Linked DNA regions of Homo sapiens: region 1 is linked to region 2. Evidence: promoter capture Hi-C in 16 types of primary human blood cells and fetal thymus (Javierre and others, 2016). All regions are on one chromosome and are shown on one strand. The core of a region is centred on a gene start or on the middle of the fragment in contact, and the rest is flanking DNA. Distances in the headings are between cores, read along the strand shown.

What was found. Contacts are between HindIII fragments. The CHiCAGO score rates a contact against its expected background, and 5 or more counts as called.
Region 1: a fragment that was not itself captured here is called in contact with the fragment with the promoter of PTK2 in region 2 in 1 of 17 cell types (erythroblasts); the score reaches 5.5 in erythroblasts.

Annotation. Positions count from the first base shown.
Region 1 is chr8:140,449,707-140,454,108 of GRCh38, forward strand. It overlaps TRAPPC9 (trafficking protein particle complex subunit 9), which reads right to left. Exons shown (of 23, transcript NM_001160372.4): 2 at 1,084-1,677. The coding sequence starts at 1,667. Among named protein-coding and RNA genes, the nearest start is that of TRAPPC9, 5.8 kb to the right of the region's middle. The HindIII fragment of the contact is 2,682 bases long and covers 1,077-3,758 here.
Region 2 is chr8:140,998,684-141,003,172 of GRCh38, forward strand. PTK2 (protein tyrosine kinase 2) reads right to left here and starts at 2,599. Exons shown (of 36, transcript NM_001352702.2): 1 at 2,442-2,599. RefSeq lists silencers at 2,264-2,593, 2,614-3,033. The HindIII fragment of the contact is 6,005 bases long and covers 1-3,832 here.

The DNA.
Region 1 (4,402 bases), core at 1,168-3,667, 550 kb before region 2:
CGACACTGTGGCCATCAGGAGGGAAAAAGTAGCCACATACGCAGGGTGCACAGCCTGGCAATCCGGAGACGTGGGCTCTACTTCTAGCTCAGCTAGGACCTAGCCCTTACCTCTCCAGATTCACCCTCTCATCTGTGAACCAAAGGGACGAGACTGAATAAAACTGTTCAAACTGTGCTCTAGCACAGTGCTGTCCAACAGAAATAAAATGCAAGCCACGTAAGTACATTTCAGTTTCTAGTTGCCACATTTTTAAAAGTAAGAATGAAACAGTTGATACTGATTTTTAAAATATAGTTTATTTAACCTAAGATATGTAAAATACTATCATTTCAACATGTAATCTGTATAAAACATATTAGCAAGAAAGTTGGCCAGGCACAGAGGCTCACACCTGTAATCCCAGCACTTTGGGAGGCCAAGGCAGGCAGATCACTCAAGGCCAGGAGTTCAAGACCAGCCTGGCCAACGTGGCAAGATCCTGTCTCTATTAAAGATACAAAACTTAGCCAGGCATGGTGGCACCTGCCTGTAGTCCCAGCTACTTGGGAGGCTGAGGCATGAGAATCACTTGAACCCGGGAGGTGCACGTTGCACTGAGCCAAGATCGCGCCACTGCACTCCAGCCTGAGAGACAGAGTAAGACTCTGTCTCAAAAAAAAATTAGCAAGAAAGTTTATTTTTTCAGAAGTAAGTCTCAAAATCTGGCGTGGGTTTTATTCACAGCCCATCTCAACTAAAACTAGCCTCGTGTCTAGTGCCCAAAAGCCACAACTGGCTGTGGCTGCTGTATGGGACAGAGCTCCAGGAGTCCCACGAGGGGAGCCCCACTAAAAAGAGGGGAGTGTACAAGACAACTCTAAAGGACTCCCCCAACCAAAGGCTGTCTCTGTCTTTAAAAGTCACTGGTTTTTGTTTGGTTGGTTTTTTTAGCAGCACTCAAACAGATTCTGACAGAAAGTCATTAGTTTTAAAAACCAATGGACAACACCTTTCTACTCCTTGCTGCAATGAAATTCTGCCCTGTGCTTTCCCTTTCTGATGCAGGGAAGCCAAGGGGCCTGGGTCTCTAGGTAAGCTTACCTGCTGTCTGTGTCCAGTCCTACAAAGTCCTTTTTCTCAAACGGGACACAGAGAAGGGGGATCTTATCCCCAGACTTGTCTGTGGCTCTGTCCAGACGCTTGGACTCCAGCACGATGAACAGTGACTCGATGAAGTCCTCGATTCTCTTCTCCACCGTCTGGCAGTCCTCGTAGTTGGGGTAGAAAGCCACGTCGGTGCGCGGCTGCTCCACGATCTCCCCCTGCAGCCCGAAGACAAAGAGCCGGGAGTCATACAGTGTGGAGCCGTAGATCTCCTTCTGCACGTGGAACTTCTCAAAGGTCTGTGGCCAGTCCTTGGCCGAGAAGCAGTCTGTGATGGTGATGAGGCCCACGACTTTGCGGTGGGTCTGGAAGTCACCCCACTCGTTGTTCTCGGGTGGGTAGTGGTGCCTGTAGCGGATGTAGAGGACTCGCTGGGAGTCCCGCACGCTGATCTGACTCACAGAGCAAATCCTCTTATAGATCCTGAAGAAGTTCTCCTCGGAGACGATGCCCACAGGCTGGACCACCACGAGCAGCGTCTGGTGGTCCTCAGCACACTGCATGTAGTCAGGGACGCTCATTTTGAAGTCCCTGTTCAGAGAGAAGAAATGAGGCTGTGAGACACAGAGTCCTGAGTGCTGAGAGCCTACCCTGGGAGGCAGTGACTGTGACCTTCACTACCCAGAGGCAGGGGAAGCCCCAAGGAAAGCCGTGGCATCAACAGGTCTTAGGGCTCTACACGTGGCTGTCGCAGCTCTGATCATAATGCTGTAACTGTTGACCTTCAGTCCCTTGGCCTCAGCATGGAGCTTCTACAGAAATGGGGCTGTTTCTTGTCTTTCTATTCTCACCACCTAACCAGGAGTAGTAAGAGTCAGTGCTCAAAAATGTCTGTTGAGTGAATGAATAAACACGTGTGTAATTGCTCCCCCATCCCCTCAACAGGATATTAAGAAAAATCCACCATGCAATCACATCTGGATTTGAATTCCGGGCTCCCTGGAACTCCTCAGCTACAAAATAGTGGTGATAATAGAACTTGTCTTGGCCGGGCATGGTGGCTCATGCCTGTAATCCTAACACTTTGGAAGGCCGAAGCTGGCGGATCACTTGAGGTCAGGAATTCGAGACCAGCCTGGCCAACATGGTGAAACCCCACCTATACTAAAAATACAAAAATTAGCCGGGTGTGGTGGCACGTGCCTGTAATCCCAGTTACCCAGGAGGCTGAGGCAGGAAAATCACTGGAACCCGGGAGGTGAAAGCTGCAGTGAGCCAAGATTGCGCCACTGCACTCCAGCCTGGGTGACAGAGTGAGACTCCGTCTCAAAAAAAAAAAAAAAAGAGGCGGGGCGCAGTGGCTCACACCTGTAATCCCAGCACTTTGGGAAGCTGAGGCAGGCAGATCACAAGGTCAGAAGATCGAGATCATCCTGGCTAACATGGTGAAACCCCATCTTTACTAAAAATACAAAAAATTAGCCCGGCGTGGTGGCAGGCACCTGTAGTCCCAGCTACTTGGGAGGCTGAGGCAGGAGAATGGCATGAACCAGGGAGGCAGAGCTTGCAGTGAGCCCAGATGGCGCCACTGCACTCCAGCCTGGGCGACAGAGCCAGACTGCATCTCAAAAAAAAAAAAAAAAAAAAAGAATTAAAAGAAAAAGAACTTGCCTTATAAAACTGTATCTAGATTGAGGAGGTTGCGAATGTAAAGGGCCTAGCATTGTGCCTAACATAAAAGGAGAGATTACACAAATATACCACCTTTCCTTTATAAATGGGAGAGTTGCCATAACCTCTCTGAGCCAATTTTGTCAGATATAAAAAGAAAACGTTATTACCTGATTCCCCAGAGCTGGGGAAAAATTAAATTAGATGACCCACGTGAAAGAATCTGGCTCATAGGAGATCCTCAATACATGTTTGTTGAAGGGATTAGTGAACAAACAAACAAATGAACAATCCAATGAATGCTGCCCCCAGCCTACAGACGGTCATGATGGAAATCCCACTGCCTGGAAGTCAGGGCCGATATTCAACTCCCAGCTCTACACGCACGATCTGGGTGACCTGGAGCAAGCCTGTGTGCTTCCCTGAACCCTAGTTTCATTGTGAATAAAAATGAGGATAGTAACACATACCTCAAGGTGTCAGCAAGTCAACATTCTGGTTGTGATAACATACTGTGGTTTTGTAACATGGCACCACGGGGGGAAACTGGGCAAAAGGTATATAGGATCCCTCAGTATTATTTCTGACAAATGCACATGGAGCTACAACTACTATAGTCTCAAATAAAAAGTCTAATTTTTTTAAAGGTTAGGGAGATTAAATGAGCTCTCTGTATCAAATAAGAAAAAGATGCCTCGATACACACCTCCACTGTCCCCATCAGTGGGCTGACACTTCCTGAGGGGATTTGGCCATGGTCCCCATGGCCAGAGGCAGCTGTACCATGAGCTAATGGGGTTCAGCTTCAGGCCCCTTCCATGGCCCTCTATCTAATTTTGCATTTTTAATTTTGTTTTCTTTTTCTTAAATAGGAAGCCCAAAACTGCATAACCTTCAGGTCACCAAAGCCTGACTGCAGAGATCGTGGCAGTAAAACCCTCCCAGGTGACACTAAGATTAAAGTGACATTGCTATAAGACCTCTGTGAAATTCTAATGGCAAGCTTCTCACCTGCACGGAGAGGAGGAGGACTGTGTGTCGGGGGCTATCCTGGACATCACAACCCCACCTCTACAGACTTCAAAAATACACATGGATAGAGAAGTATGAACAAAATTAAATTTTAAAAAAAGGAAACCCTAGCCTCCCAACATGTCTTGCTTCTGCCCAGGATCTAAACGGTTCACAAGTATATTACATGTGTGTGACTCAGCCCAAGTCCCTGACTCCAGTGCTCACGCTCTCAAGGACGACGCCCCACTCTCTCCTGCCCTTTCCCCACAACGATTCCCTAAAGAGTCTTTTCTGCACACAAAAACCACCTTCGAAAGAACCAAAATCACATCACCTTCCAACAAAGAGGCATAAAACCCCTCGGAGGACATATCAAAATACTGAGCGGGGGAGACTGGAGCGCTCATGTTTCTCAAAAGTAGGCACAGGTTTAACAGAAGCTGAGAAACACCGAAGCCTTCATTCTACAGAGGAGGAGAGCGCGGCCCACCGCAGGTAACAAAGGGCCTTATTTTAGAAGTATCATCTCGGCCAGACACGGTGGCTCACACCTGTAATCCCAACACTTTGGGAGACAGAGGCGGGAGGATCACTTGAGGTCAGCAGTTAGAGACCAGCCTGGTCAACATGA
Region 2 (4,489 bases), core at 1,349-3,848:
TGGCGGGCGCCTGTAGTCCCAGCTACTTGGGAGGCTGAAGCAGGAGAATGGCATGAACCCGGGCAGTGGAGCTTGCAGTGAGCCGAGATCGCACCACTGCACTCCAGCCTGGGCCACAGGGTGAGACTCCGTCTCAAAAAAAAAAAAAAAAAAACTATTTTCTTAGACAATTTCTCCAACTCCCTAGAAAGAACAGTTATCTGACTAGCTGGAGAACATGATTTTGAGGACTGAGGGAGTAAGTTATGTAATTTCCATCAAGAAGCATGGTGCTTTTCAGAAAACATTTTAGTATAAAACGTTTTAATGATCCTCACTGCCTCCTCACAATTTCACTGCTGGATTCATGGAACTTCACTCCTAATCTAACATTATTCACTTTCAATGGGCTTCCAGCCTCAAATAATAAGGCTTTTTAAGTCCCATCTCCTCTCAGAGTTTGCCCCAGTATTCTTTGCCCCAAACCGTAAACATGGAGTTTTGATTTCCATGTCTTTATTTAACCAATGACTTGCTTCTTGATGCATCACCACTGAATGATGTATGGGTCCTTCTAATCAGCGTCTACACTGAAGTCTTAGGTGATTGTCGGCTCCCTTATAAAGGAAGCATGTGTTTTAAATAATCTGTGCCTGTGTTCATTATTAAACTAGATTATTTGATAGTGACCTGAAATTCTTTAAAGGAAAACCTTGTAATATTGATCTTGTTGTTTCTGCAGTTTAATAAACAAGAAGGTTCAAAATGATGGTAGGTTCAGCCTGTTTTTCCCCACCAAGGATAACCACAAATACAAAACACAAAGATATTGGGACACAAACATCCTTAAAATGTTCCTTGTTTGAATATCATAGGGCTTTTCTAATTAATTGGCTAGTATAACTGGATGAAAATATTATCTATACTGTACCCCAACAAAAATACGTTGAATGCTAGTTTACTTTTATGTGTCTTGTAACTAGTTCATCCGTGTGCTTGCATCGCACTGCTCATAAGTTTTCAAATATGGGACGGAGTGCTCAACTCTCGAAGACATCATTTTCATTACCCGTTTCCCAAATAAAATATTAAGGTTGAGGCTCTGGTATTTCATTTCAAATAGTACTGGTCTGTTTTTCCAGCCATGAAAACGTTTACATTCTAAGTAAAAATCCTAGCGATGGTTAAGTCTTAAATACAAATCCCCAAACTCTTGCACTGCCTTCAGCTTTCAGCTTGAATGTATAACCAGTTCCCATAATTACTACAATATTACTATTATCTTAGTCTCATTGCCAAAAACCCAGCTGCAGGCTAACTATGCAAGAATGAGACACTGTTGAAATGACTCGGAAAAAAAAAAAAAAAGAAACTTTACCCTCACTGAATTTAGCTACAAAATTCTGCAATTAAATGAAACCAATTCACACACACACACACACACACACACACACACACACACACCCCTTCTTCTAAGAAAGAACAGGATGCCGCTACACAAGGAACCCAGAGAGAAATTCGGCAAACAGTTGCGCCTAAGCCACCGCGGCAGAGTCGGGGGCTGGGGGCGGGGAAGAGGAGAAAACTTGGGAAGCACAATGACTCCAGTGAGGACTTCAGTGAGGGCTCCAGGGCTCCCGCCAAGAAGCCCACGGGGCTCTACCAAACTTGAGGGTTTGCGTTCGGGGACACGGCGGGCTTGGGGCTCGGGCACCGGCAGGCCGCTCGGAGCCCACCCTTGGCTGCCCGCGAGGCCGCGCCCGGGGGACGGAGGTCGGGCCGTCGCGAGCCTCCCTCTCGCGTCCGGGCGAACCCTGCCGACGTCCCTGCGATTTCCCTCTTCCTCCTCCTGCCTCTCCCCTTTTGTTTTTCAGGCATTGGGTCCGCTCCGGCGGAGGCCGGCCCGTCCTCCCCGCGCCTCTGTCCGCCCTGCGCGCCCCCAGAGCCCCGGCCTCCTCGTCTTCCTCAGGCCCCTCGGCCTCTCCGCGCGCCCGGCCTTTTCGAAAGCCGCCCCCCCCTTCCTCCTCACGTCTCCCGGACTCCCCACGTCCCCCAGCCTTTCTGTCTTCCCCGAACCCCTTGGCCTCCCCGCGCGCCCCCAAAACCCCCGACCTCCTCGAGCTCCCGGCCTCCCCACGTCCCTCAGCCTCCCAGTCTTCCCCAAGCCTCCCGACCACCCAGCGCCCCGAACCCCCGCCTCCCAGCGCGCCCCCTGACCTCCTTAAGCCTCTCGGCCTCCGCGAGGGCCCCCAACCTCCTCACGGCCACCGGCCTCCCCTCCTCCCAGAACCCGGGCCGGGGGCGCGGGAGGGGCCGGTCTCCGCCGCATCCGCCCCGGGACTGGTTGGGCGGCCCCGCTCTGCCCCTCCGCCCTCAGGGCCGCGGCCCAGCCCACGACCGCTGCACAGAAGGAGCCCGCCCAGCCCCCGACCCGCGCCCCGCGCCCGGCGCCCCGCACTCACTCGGACCGCGGCTCGGCGCCGTGAAGCGAAGGCAGACGACGACGGGGCGGCGCTGGGCGACAGCAGCCGCGCTTCCTCCCACGCCTCACGCCGCGGGCTCACAGTGGTCCGGGACCGGCGGCGGCGGCGGCGGCGCGGGCTCGCGCCCTCGAGGCCGTGCTGCGTCGGCGCGGGCCCGCGCGCGTGCGCGGCAGCCGGCTGAGGCGCGCGTCCTCTCTCGGCAGCGCACGCCCGACCCGGTCTCAGTCCGGAGTTCCCGCCTCTCGGGGGGACTGGGCATGCGCGCCGCCCCCGCGCATGCCCAGCGCGCCGCTAGGCTCTGCTCGCGTAATTTGTCCTGTAGTGACCGCGCCGGGGTTTCGGGGTGGCCCGAGGCTGCGCGCGGGCGTGGCGGCCGGACGAGGAAAGCCCTGGTCTCGGGGGTGGCCGGGGTCGCCCCGCCGAGCGGACATCCTGGGGTCCCACCTGCCTCGCTCTCCGCCAGCGGGATTAGACGGACTTCGGGAAAGTCCTCCCCATCTCCTTCCCTGCCCCCAAATCCCGAAGGGGTCCCCTCTGGAGAACCTCCCTCCTGAGCGGCCCTGCGGCCCCGCCCCCAGAGTTGGACGCCCGCTGTCGGGCACCCGCTGCGGGCCCCGGGCCTTGCAGTGCACTCTCCAGGCACCACACCGACCCTAACGAGCGGTTCCTGGGCCCTTTTTGCAGACAAGGAAACTGAGGCTCAGAGATTCTTTTCATGGCATTATAGCTAAGTTGGGCTGGGCCATTATTTGATTTTGGAAGATGAAAAATCATGAAAGGGACTTAGAAGTCCACTGGAGGTAGACAGGTTACCTAAATGAACGCCAGCAGGGAACGAGCCCTGCAATCCCTCCCGAGGGCTACAGACCTGAGACGGGCTCCAGGAAAAGGAGGGAAGGCTCGCCCCGACACCGACCCGGGCTTCCGCGGTGTGAGCCAGTTTCAGCGAGGAGCTAGTTGGTTATGACCGGAACGTGCCGTAGGTGGGGTGGGGGAAATAGCAAAAGGCGAGGTTGGAGGGATTGAAAAATGCAGACGGCTGCGTGGGGCTTGCTTAGGTGCCTGGAGTTTATTCTTTAGGCAACAGGGAACCTTTGGAGGGCTTTAAGCAGGAAGTGATAACTGATTTGTGTTATTTAAAAAAAAAAAAAAGTCACTCTGGCAACCTTGTGGTCGGAAATGAAACCAGAAGAACCCTCAAGGCTGCAACTTTCATTTTTATGGTGTCATTTTGATGCTAACCACAAGCCAGGAAGCAGGACAGACAGGCACCGAGGCCTTTTGAAAGGTGAACACCCTGAAGCCCAGAGAGGTGACACACGTCATTGCATTAGGAGCTTTTATAAAAGTAAAAATGAAGTAAAATAAAAAGCTTTTGCTTATCAAGATTTTACCATATTTAAATGTTTGGGTTGTATTGTTCTTTAATGAGATGTATTAAGGTTGGTGTTTTTCTGGGTTTTGTTACTTTTTACTACATATGAAATTGTAAGGAATTGCCTCTCCATGCCAGCCTCAGGCCTTTGCGCGTGCTATTTGCTCTGCCTGGAACTTCTTGCTCCTCACTTCGTTCAATACCCTGCTTATATATCACCTCATTGATACAGCCGACCACTTCATATAATAGGAACCACCCACTGCCCTGCTATCCTCACACACAGTCCGCACTTAGTCTGCTCTGTTGTTCTCCAAAGCACCTATTGTTCACCATAGCCCAACACTGTGTTCTTGTTTATTTCTTGATTGTCCGCTCTCTCCACTAGAATCTTAGATTCATTAGAGCACGGGCTTTGTTTTGTTCACTAATAGGTCCTGGCACACAGTAAGTATTTGTCAAGTGAATGAACGAAGCTTTGGGTGATGTGAAGTGAGAGCTTATTATTAAAAGGATAAGAAAAGCATGGGAATTAAAAGAGGAGAGTGGAGGCACAAAGGGACTGCATTAAGGATAACTTTGGGGGAAGGGGCTGCACTTAGCATAGTAGACTAAAAATGGCCATCAATTCTTTGACACTTTTCCCAAGAAG